Linked DNA regions of Homo sapiens: region 2 is linked to region 1. Evidence: promoter capture Hi-C in human tissues and cell types (Jung and others, 2019). All regions are on one chromosome and are shown on one strand. The core of a region is centred on a gene start or on the middle of the fragment in contact, and the rest is flanking DNA. Distances in the headings are between cores, read along the strand shown.

The links. Contacts are between HindIII fragments. The study calls those that stand out against the background at their distance.
Region 2: a fragment that was not itself captured here is called in contact with the fragment with the promoter of IMPG1 in region 1 in 2 of the 25 tissues and cell types used here (pancreas and spleen).

The regions. Positions count from the first base shown.
Region 1 is chr6:76,069,060-76,074,942 of GRCh38, forward strand. It overlaps IMPG1 (interphotoreceptor matrix proteoglycan 1), which reads right to left and starts at 3,603. Exons shown (of 17, transcript NM_001563.4): 1 at 3,363-3,603. The coding sequence starts at 3,429. The HindIII fragment of the contact is 12,797 bases long and covers 1-5,883 here.
Region 2 is chr6:76,024,340-76,030,222 of GRCh38, forward strand. IMPG1 (interphotoreceptor matrix proteoglycan 1) reads right to left here. Exons shown (of 17, transcript NM_001563.4): 5 at 855-919. Among named protein-coding and RNA genes, the nearest start is that of IMPG1, 45 kb to the right of the region's middle. The HindIII fragment of the contact is 4,590 bases long and covers 1,095-5,684 here.

The sequences.
Region 1 (5,883 bases), core at 2,353-4,852:
GAGAACCCACATACCTACAACCAGTTCATCTTTGACATAGTCGACAAAAATATACACTGGGGAAAGAAGACACTATTCAATAAATGGTACTGGGAAAATTGGATAGCCATATGGAGAAGAATTAAACTGGACCAATATCCCTCACTGTATATAAAAATTAGCCCAATAGAGATAAAAGACTTAAACATGAGACCTTAAAACTCTAAACATTATAAATGGAAACCTAGGAAAAACTCTTCTGGACATTAGCCTACACAAAGAATTAGTTACTGAGAACTCAAAAGCAAATGTAACAAAACCAAAAACAGACAAATGGGACTTAATTAAAGTAAAATGCCTGTGCACAGTAAAAGAAATATTCAACGGAGTAAATAGATATCACACAAAATGGAAGAAAATATTGGCAAATTATGTACCTAACAAAGGGCTAATATCCAGAATCTATAAGGAACACAAACAACTCAACAGAAAATACTAAATAACTTCCTCAAGAAGTGGTCAAAGAAGACTTCTCAAATAACTAAAAACAGAACTACCATTTGACCCAGCAATCCCATTACTGGGTTTATATCCAAAAGAAAATAAATCATTCTACCAAAAAGACACATACACTTGCAAGTTCATCACAGCACTATTCACAACAGCAAAGACATGGAATCAACCTAGGTGCCCATCATTGGTTGATCAAAAAAAAAAAAATGTGGTATATATACACCATAAAATACTTTGCAGCCATAAAACAAACCAAAAATGAAATCATGTCTTTTGCAACAACATGAATAAAGCTGGAGACCGCTATCCTAAGTAAATTAATGCAGGAACAGAAAACCCAATACTGCATGTTCTCACTTATAAGTGGGAGCTAAACACTGGGTCCCCATGGACATAAAGATGGCAACCATAGACATTTGGGACTACTAGAGGGAAGAGGGCAAGAAGGAGACAAGGGTTGAAAGTCTTCCTCTTCAGTACTGTGCTAAGTACCTGCATGATGGGGTCAATTGTACCCCAAAACTCAGCATCATGCAATATACCTATGTAACTAACCTGCACATGTATGCCCTGTATTTAAAATAGAAGGTAAAATTATTTTAAAAAATTAACAAAGAACATGAACAGATATTTTGCAAAAGGAGACATACAAATGGCCAACAAACATATGAAAGAAAGCTCAATGTCACTAATCTCAGAGGAATGCAAATTAAAACCACATTGAGATACTATCTCACATAAGTCAGAACGGCTATTTTTCAAAAGTCAGAAAATAACAGATGTGGAGAACAGTAAATGCTTATGCACTGTTGGCAGAAATGGAAATTAGTACGACCTCTATGGAAAACAATATGGAGATTTACCTAAGAACCAAAAATAGAACTACCCTTTGATCCAGCAATCCCACTGCTGGGTATCTACCCAAAGGAAAATAAATCATTATATCAGAAAGATACTTGCATTTGAATATTTATTGCAGCACTATTACCAATAGCAAAGATAGGGAATCAACCCTAGTGAACGTTAACTAATGAATGAATAAAGAAAATATCGTTATATATTAATGGAATGCTACTCAGCCAAAAAAATGAATGAAATAATGTCTTTTGTAGCAACCTGGATGGAACTGGAGGCTGCTCTCTTAAGTGAAATAACTAAGAAACAGAAAGTCAAATATCACGTGGTCTCATTTATAAGTGGGAGCTAAATAATGTATACACAAGAAAGACATAGAGAGTGGAACAATAGACACTGGGCATTCAAAAAGATGAGAGAGTGGAAGGGGAATGAGGGATGAAAAATTACCCAATGAGTACAATGTACCCTATTCAGGTGATGGTTACACTAAAGCCCAGATTTCACCAGTGTGCAATATATGGGTGTAACAAAACTGCACTTGTACTCCCTAAATCTATATTTAAAAAAAACAAGTAACATGTTAGGATTTTTTATTATGCAATTACTGGACATTGTTTCCTAGAAGTAAGCATATAACAAATGGCAGTTTTCTTGATAAGCTTATTTCATTTCAATTCCTATATGTATAATATATTACATATATTAAATTATATGTATATGTAATACATTAGAATTATAATTATATGACATATAATTGTTATATATAAAAATTATATATAATTATATATTTGGAATTGTGTATAATAGCTGATATGCAATATATGAAAATAGAAAAAATCGTTAAATTAACAGAATTAATGTAACAAAAAATTTAACACAGCTGAATTGCTTGATCAAGTCTACGAAATAGTCAAATTGGTTTACTTCATCAGATTCAGTTCAGAATATACCAAAATCTCATTATTTATTTCTAATTAAAATGATTTTATAAATGTAAATATTTATATATAATTGATAATTTAATGAAAAAGTAAATAAATTTTGCTTCTTTCACTATTGTGAAAACATGAAGAAATCTTTTCCAGAAATTTTTTTCTCCCTCCAAATGCAATCACTGAGAAGTTTCATATAACATGACTGATGGAATCACAGTTATTTTGTGACTTACACATGCAATGACTATTAATTTTACTTTTTCATGGATATTCCAAACCAATACTTTAGTTAAAATGTTTATCATCATGAAGCTATGTCATTCTTAAAGAAATTCTTAACCTTATTGACTTCAAATGTCTTAAAAAGATTGAGTATATTATGATAGGTAGGCTTATCCTTATATAAAAAAGTCAAACTTTCTCCAACATGTGTGTTTCTTTTTTAAAACACACATTATTTTTCTTAAAACATCCTGTTTGTGGCTTATTTTAATTTCATATTCAGATGCAGATTTGCCATAAGAACATACATTGCCTAGTTCTTTTATGCGTACAACTTCAAAAACAACCAAATTTTGAAGTGGTTGTCATCATGAACCCTGAAGATGAAGAATGTTTGCTATTTTCTAAGGGAAAGCAACTCATGATTTCATTGTGAGAAGGTAAGAAATACTTACTTTTTTTTGTCTGACCATAAATGACTTAAAACATTACTTTTATCTTTAGGTTTTATTTGTTGAATTTCGGTGGATAAATGGAGTTAGTTTCACAGATCTACTAATATTATTTACATTAATAATAAGAATTTTCAATGAATGTTTTAGAACAGCAAATAGGATGCATTCATCTCTCCTATTTTGTTAATCTTCACTGCACTTAAGACCATGTAGTAAATATTAAATCAAGTGAAAATCATTTCTGATAGTTAATTATTCAATCAATCAAGCAATATTTATTCAAGGCCTACTATATACTAGCCCGTGAGATCAATTGGTAGCCTTGTTGGTTCTAAATATTCACTTCTATCGGTAGATTTTATAGATAAGCAATTTAAAAGTAAACATTTAAGTAACTTACCTTTGGTTCCTTGAACTTGGAGAAAAATCCAAAAAACAAAAATAGCTCTTCTAGTTTCCAAATACATTCTGGCTTTTGTGCATTGGTAATTCTGATAACAATCACAGAACAACCTCAAATCTCATTAAAAAGTAACAGAAATGTGAAAAATAATTATATATTGATACCAGATGATTGAGGATAACCTTCTTGGTTTACCTTTATGAGGGTGTTAATTTATGAAGAACATGTAGCAGTGTCTGTTTCTGGAATAATCTGCTTGTCTTTCCCTCAGGTGTAATCTCTGCTTAAGGGCCAGCTGGAGGAACCTTTATCTCATTAACCTTCTGGAGGAGCATCTGTCAGCCTAGCTCCAGGACCCTGAATGCCATTATAAACAAGTGTCTACAGACACAGTTTTTTCTTAGTTATTCACCTGTTACAGTGACACAGAGAGCCAGGGGAAGTTCTGCCAAACAGAGAATAAGGCTGACAGTTAGGGTCAGATGTTTTCTAAAATGACATGTACAAGAAACATCCATTAAAAGAGCTTAATTTCTGTCCCTGAAAGTATATGGTTATCCAATATGTATTAGTCTCCACAGATAGCGAAACTGTCTCCATTCTCTTCTATGTTCTGCTTTATAAATTGCTTTTGATTTGGAATTACATACAGGTGGCTTTTTTGATTTAAGTCTGGTTTTAATGTTTAAAATCTGTATGCACTGTGTTTAAGGGGTCAAATACTTTTTTTCTACAAAGTTTGTAAGAAAAAATTGTGCCTTTCTTCTACCCATGCCTTCTTTCAAAGGGGAGCCATTTTTACTTCATCAACCTAATTCTTCTAGTAGTCTCATTTGCACTTCTAAATAACATGCCTCTATTACTATTTTGGAGGTTTTCACTTTTAGGTATTATCAAATAATAGATATTGAGAATAACTTCACTTCCACACATACCCTTTCTACTCATTGTAAACATCTTTCCATCTTTCTTCATCAGTATTATTGTAATTTCAGTTTTTGAATATTTGATTTTATATTATTTTGACTATACATGCTACATATTGCTGAGTCATGAAACACACTGCAACTACTACTGTATATGGAGCTCTTGTGTTGTGGATAGACATTGTTCTTAGAGATGTCCATAGATTATCCATAGATTCCTCAATATGACAATATAAACACTGTTAATACTATCTCTTTTAAATTTGAGGAGAATAAAGTATATGTGGCAGAGCTAGGATTTAAACCTAAAGAGTCTGGTTCAAAAGCCTACACCCTTTTTTTTTTTTTTTTTTTTTTTTGAGATGGGGGTCTCACTCTGTCACCCAGGTTGGAGTGCAATGGCGTGGTCTTGGCTCATTGGCTCATTTCAGCCTCAACTTCCATGGGGTCAGGTGATCCTCCCACCTTAGCCTCCTGAGTATCTGGGACTGTAGGCAGATGCCACCACACCTGGATAATTTTTTGTATTTTTTGTAAAGATGAGGTTTCACCATGTTGCCCAGGCTGGTCTCGAACTTCTGGGCTCAAGTGATCCAGCAGCCTTGGCCTCTCAAAGTGGTGGAATTATAGGTGTGAGCCACGCACCTGGCCAAGAGCCTATACTCTTCACCACTATCCTTCTATGATACTTTTTGCATAGTCTCATTAAAAAAAACTTTTTTTAGTTTCTAAATACAAAATAATAAATTATCCCCAAATATTCCCCTGGATATGTAAATCTCTTCACATAAACACTTCAAATAGTCTGTCTTTCCCAGGGCTTTCTAACCCTCTCCAGTCTGTATTATTTAATTTCTTGTCATTGTTCATAGCAGTCATCTGGGGATTGCCCTTCACAGTCATCCTGAGGATTCCTTCAACCTCTTTCTTGTGTTGGATCTTGTGATTTCTGGATCCTGTATTGTCTTCTTTCTTAACTTAATCTCTTGTTTTAGCGGAGCAACTGCTCTAGTACATTACTGAAAGTTTGTGGTAGGTAAATTTAAAATCTTACATGTTTGAAAATGGTTTCCATCTGCCCTCATACTTGTTTGATAGTTTGGCTGGATATAGAATTCTGGGTTGAAAACAACATTCATTTAGATATTGAAAATGTCAGCTGTAGAAATTCTAAAACTTTATTACTGTTGTCTTCTTTCTCGTGGTTTGTTGTGGCTTTATACTTAAAAAAATTCCTTAAATATTATTTTCTTGGGGTATTCAGAGGTGGTCAAAGGGAATGGATTTTTAGCTCTTACCTTCAACTACAGATTATTTTGGTAATATTTAAAGAAAACTACCATCAATCGGTATATAAGCCTGCTTATAACAATGTATTTGAAAATGAGAAATGAACTAGGTGGAAGATGAATCTATTTTTCCCTAATTATATGTAGAAAAAATGATATTAGAATGCAATAGACTAGATACATACTTATACATAAGTATTTCTAAAATACATTCATATTAGTTGAAGAAATACTTCTCTCTTGGTTTGCTATATAGTTCTATGTTATACTTACATTTCTAACCCTGTTATGAAACATTTCTTC
Region 2 (5,883 bases), core at 2,140-4,639, 45 kb before region 1:
AACTGGGGAACACATTGCCCAGAGAATAGTTTTATTGTGTATATTTAAAAGTATTCTTTTATGTGAAAATGGGAAGACTGCAATAGAAATATACATGAAAGAGAAATTTCAAACATCTAATAAACACAGGAGAAATGATTTTCCTCTGCCTTTTGGCAAACTCTAGAATAAATAGTAATATTCAATATTGATAAGTGCTGCAATGAGACAGGTTCTTGTCTTTTCTGCCAGTGGGATATTTAAATTGTAACAAAATTTCTGGAAAAAAAATTTGGCAAAATTTATTAAAAGCCTTAAAATCCATAGTGTTTGACTTAGTAATCTATTTTGAGAAATTAGTGATTTGACAAAGATTTATGTTTAAATATCTTAATTAAAACACTATTTGTAATGTCAGATACAATGATGCAATGGTTAAGTTGATGACATCCATATGGATGCAACAGAATGTTGCAAGTCATTAAAATGATAACTTTGAAGAAATTTTAGTGAACTATAAAATATCCTTTACATCAGGTTAAGTGGAAAAAATGATACAAACTCTAAGTAAATATGGTCTCAGTAATATGTGTATATAATAGAAGAAAGAAGGCAGAAAATAGGCAGTAAATGTTCATGATGGTTGTTTCCAAACTGTAAGATATTGAATGGTTTGGTTTTACCTTTATTCTTTTCTGTATTTTCCAAGTTGTATGCAATAAATTTAAATTATGTTATAAAGTTAGAAATATAAGCTAGTTTTGAGAAAGTACATTATAAACATTATCTTTAATTAGGAATTGTTTTATAAATAACATGCTATCATGATGATTTGAATGAAAGTTGAGAAGCAAAGAAATTAGATCTAAGCTTACCTGTTGAAATGACAATGGTTTCACCAGGCTCTCCCAATGTCTTCTCTGCAGATATTTCATCTTTTCTATTAGTACAATAGAAAAGAAGGAAGAGGTGGTGAAAGAGAACTTGATGACAGTAGAGAACATACATTTAAATTTCTTATACTGAGTAAACCTAAAAGTTATAGGAAAAGCATACTTTAAAACTAGATTGACCTATTTTTAAACTACAGAAGTAATATTTGAATATATTCTCATTGAGGAAAAATGCAAAAAACTCTCCAAAATGGTTATGTTTGACTCCAGTGTTTTCCGTAAGCATCCTTTTTTTTGTGGTCCTGGGGTTCTGTGGTAGGCAAAGCTGGTCTTTGGGGTCTAATGTTGTAGTTCCATTCCACTTACACTGTGTTCTTGACATCAGAGATAATTGATGACATGATCTGTGACTGAAATATTCTTGCTAAAATCTCAGACCCTCAAGCCTGCATATCCAGAGTCATTAAGCTTATCTAATAAAGTAACTCTTGTGGTTACAGTAATGGGAAAGAGATAGATTTCTGGGTAATATAAATTTACTAAATCTGTATTCTGGGCACAGCCACTGTCTGTAATGGTAACTAGCCAGGAAGTTGGGGGTAGGTTCTCAGTGCCATGGAATGATGATGTGGAAGAGATTCTAGGAGCAGATCCAAGGTCATGGTGGTAGAGCTATTTGTGTATAATATTGGCCCATTCTAACAAGCTTTACTTAGAAAGGAGTAGTGGTGAGAGAGCCAGGTGGGAGGAGGTCCCCCCAAAAACTCCAACTGGCCTGCCCTCAGGGATGGAGCCTTGGGAAGTTTGTGCAGTTTGCAGTGGGGAGGAGCCTGGCCCCTCCTCTTCCTGTGTGGAACCTGGGATTCAAGCTGCATGCGGGAAGCACTCTAGCAGGGACTCTGTGCGGGAAGCACTCTAGCAGGGACTCTGCGCTAGCAAGAGTCCCTATTTTCCCCTTTTCTTCCTTTTCACCCAATAAAACCCTGCTTTACTCACCCTTCAAACCATCTGCAAGCCTAAATTGTCATGGCTGTGGGACAGACAAGGACCTTGTCTTTAGCTGAACTAAGGATAAGTCCTGCAACATTTTTTGGCGCCCAACGTGGGGCTCGAGAAGTGGTGAGTGAAATGGGGACTCAAATCCTCTCGCTGTTGCTTCTAAGCCTTTTCATCCTTGGACTTCTCAGGGTGGGGGAAACCATGCCCCCATACCCCATTGCTCCTGGGCCTTTTCATGGCCCTTTCCTTCCATTCTCAGGGTCAAAAAAGGAGCAGTGAGCAGCAGCTCCCCGCTGCTCTCCCCTCCCTGCTGGGGCTGGGACGTATGGTCCAAGGGTCCCACACAGCTGGCTGGCTTGTTCCCAGCTATGCATCACCACAGCAGCCTTCTGCTTCCCTGGACAAAGGGTTCAGCTCCATCGGACAGTAATTAAACTTTTCTCCCTGGTGGAGGAACTTGCATAAGAGTAAGAGGTTCTTCCCCAGGCATTTTTAAATGTTTTTTTTTCTTTTCTCTTCTCCACCCTGTCTGCAGTTAACCTTTAAAGTTCTTTTTCCCCTTTAGCAGGCCAGACCCCCACCCCCAACAACTATCACTGTGTTCTCTGCAAAGTTTTGGTTGTTAAATCAAGCCTCCATTTTGTTATACATCCTGAGGGCATGGCTTGTAACTCCAGTGGCAAGACTTTGCCTTATGGAATGAGCCCTTTCTGGTTCAATATCTGCATGTTTTTCTAAATCTGTCTCTTAAATAGCCCCATTCAGTGACTAGGTTTTCTTCTGCCTCTCTGTGTGTGTACTGTGTGTAACGTCTGTCAAAGAGCTGTAATTAATTTGGCCTAAAGAAAGACAAGCACTTGGATCTAATTTTTTTAAGGGAAGTTAAAAGCTGTAGTACCTTGCAGTGCATGTGACTTTACTCTTTAAGAAATAAAAACAGCCTTAAAGATTATTGGTAAAATGAAGGTGTCATTAAAATGTAAATAGGTGAACTAAACTATGCAGGTCAGATGCAAGGTTTGCTAAGTGTTTTGAGGTTATAAACTGCTTTTTGGGTTTTGAGAACTGTCTGTCTTGTTGGCTTCACAATAGGTAAGGCCTGGGGACATATGAAATTAATTACACCCTTAACTAAAAAGGCAAACCTCGGCTGCAGTCAGCACACAATTAAAGTAACTTACCAGGTTTTACCTTAAAGTTAAAAATTGTTAGGAGTTAACATTATACCATGTAATTGAAACTACTGAAATTAGATTTACATGTAAGGGGTGTAAGAATAGTAAAATGTGTTTTTATAGTAAAAGGTTATAAGAAGGCATGGAAATGTAAACTTTGGCCTAGGGTTAAAGGATTGTATTAAATTATATAGAAAAAAGCTGAAGGTTCAAAGAAGTGCTGGAAGAATTGTGGAAATTACTCTTGCAGAAGAGGTTCTTTGTGTGAACATATTGACTATTCAAAAAAAGGTATTATATGGTTTTTTCCGTAAATTGAGCATTGAGATAAAACCATAACAAAATTTTCTTCAGGCACTAATCTGCTCTTTGGCAAAATTTGTAAAGGGTTATAAAAGGTTTTTGCTTCTTTAAGATTTTGGAGTCATCATTTTGGCACAATAAATAATTTATGGCTATCTGGAATTATGTTTCATAATATCAAGTGCTTTAGACATATTTAAAAGGCTTCTCAAAATCAAACTTCAGTTTCAAAATTGTCCTTCCTGACACCTGGCTTTTTGGATAGTCCAGAGAGCCCCTAGAATGTCCAGAAAAGAGGTAAGCAGGATTATTCAACATATTTAGGTACCTGGGATTGTCAAAATCATGTTCACTCTTCTTTAGTTCATATCTTGGTAAATAATGCTAATCTATGTTCCAAAATTCTATGGGATTTCAAAAATTCTAATATCTAAATGTATGCTATCAATCATAATTAATGTTGTTAAGTTATTGTAAACCATGGAGATAACCAAATTTGTCAATTGTGTTCCTAACTGTAACTACACTGGACGTTTTGCTATTCACAGACAATTGCTGTCTTGTTTTCATCCTTTTCAAAAGATAGTTTATAATAAGCTGCAGGACTTTAACAGGTGCTCGCAAATACATGATTCTGTTAACTTTGGAGATTGTAACATTGGAATAAAGGAAAATGTACAGGACTCATGAGGAGCTGAAATGCTCACGAATATCAAACCAAACAAGAGTTAATTAAATGGACAGAACTCAGAAAGCTGAAGCAACTTTTGACTTTTTCTTGGAATACTGCTGATCCTTGTTTTATTTTTCAGAGTCAAGGAAACTTATTTTGAACTATTTATAGCCTTTAACAAGTAAGGGCCGGACACGGTGGCTCACGCCTGTAATCCCAGCACTTTGGGAGGCCGAGGCGGGTGGATCACAAGGTCAGGAGATTGAGATCATCCTGGCTAACATGATGAAACCCCGTCTCTACTAAAAAATAGAAAAAATCAGCCAGGCATGGTGGTGGGTGCCTGTAGTCCCAGCTACTCAGGAGGCTGAGGCTTGAACCTGGGAGGCAGAACTTGCAGTGAGCCAAGATCGTGCCACTGCACTCCAGCCTGGGTGACAGAGCGAGACTCCGTCTCAAGAAAAAAAAAAAGTTAAGTAAGGTATACTCCTGGGGTGAAAATTTGGAGCATGCTTGTTTCTCTCTGCCTGGTTCCTTTCGAATTTGGAAACTATCTGTGAGTATTCTTAACTTACGGCAATATAGTTGTTTGCATCAGTGCAATAAGAATCCATTTTTCTTTTGCAACAAGACACAATTGGAAAAATTGGGTATTTTATCAAGGGTTTGACTGAAAGTGTATGCTTCCCTTTAAGGAGTCAATCTCAACTTACAGAACTAATAAAACTCAGTGGGGAAACTGGCCTAATACCCTTGTCTATGCAGTCCCTGTACAGGGTTCTTGACCTATGGTCAGTAAAGAATGTCACTTTCTAACAGGTCCAGGAGCTCCAAGTTTATCTTTGGACCTTAAGAGGAGGGGATCACCCAACTCACAGGCATTTGAGGATACAAACCCAGAGCTGGGATCAGCATTAAAAGGTCTCACCTGAGAGTCCTCGTGGAACAGACTTCCATCAAAGCCAATCCAAAAGGCTTATGTAGAAATAATTATTCTTGCTGCACTTTATGCAAATAATTAGGCCAAGTTTAAAACCAAAGTCTATTTGCAAACAACTCAGTCCTATTATGATTTTGTTTTTAACAAAAATGAGGACTGGAGAGAGGGAAATTATGTTTCAAAACTTATCATACATTTGTCATTAAATTCTAAACTCATTAGTTGTTTTTAAGATTTTGCCTATATTTTAGACTAACCCTGCTTGTTCCTGTGAACCAACCAGCAATCTCTGGCTGCAGCTCAGAAAGAACAAGAGGGATGGGTAATGTAGAAATCTGGATCAATATTCTGGTTCTGAGCAATTATCCTGCAAATCCTGCCAGGTGATGGAATAAATAGGGAATAAATAGGGTGCCCATCACCTGGAGGTTTCATTTTTGGGGAAGTAAAGACCAAGGGAACTAACCAAAGCCAAGCACCATGCACCTAAATTCTAGCAAGCATAACTATAGCTACCAGTTATCTTGGTGTGTCACAAGACATCCTTTTCTCTCCCTTGTTGGAGGACTCACTTCCACAGTTTCACCTTAGCATTTGGCTTTTGATAAGGAGTCCATGTAACCCCCCGAGACATATTTTTGTCCCAAACTCAATTCCAAGCTTTAGGTAAAAGCCCTAGGAAGGAAAACTGGATCTGAGGTATCCAGAGGCAAATTACAACGGAGGTTAAAAGGCACAGTGCAGGTGAGCATGGCTGATTCCTGTCGATTAAGCCAACCCCAAGCTTCCTGTTTCATGGATAAAGGGCATGTTAATATCTATGGTATAAATGAGGTCTAGGGAATTCCAAGGCTACTGACAGTAGCAGGGATAGAGACATAAGGGAGAGCAGATCATTCTTATTCTCTAAGGCCCTCCCTG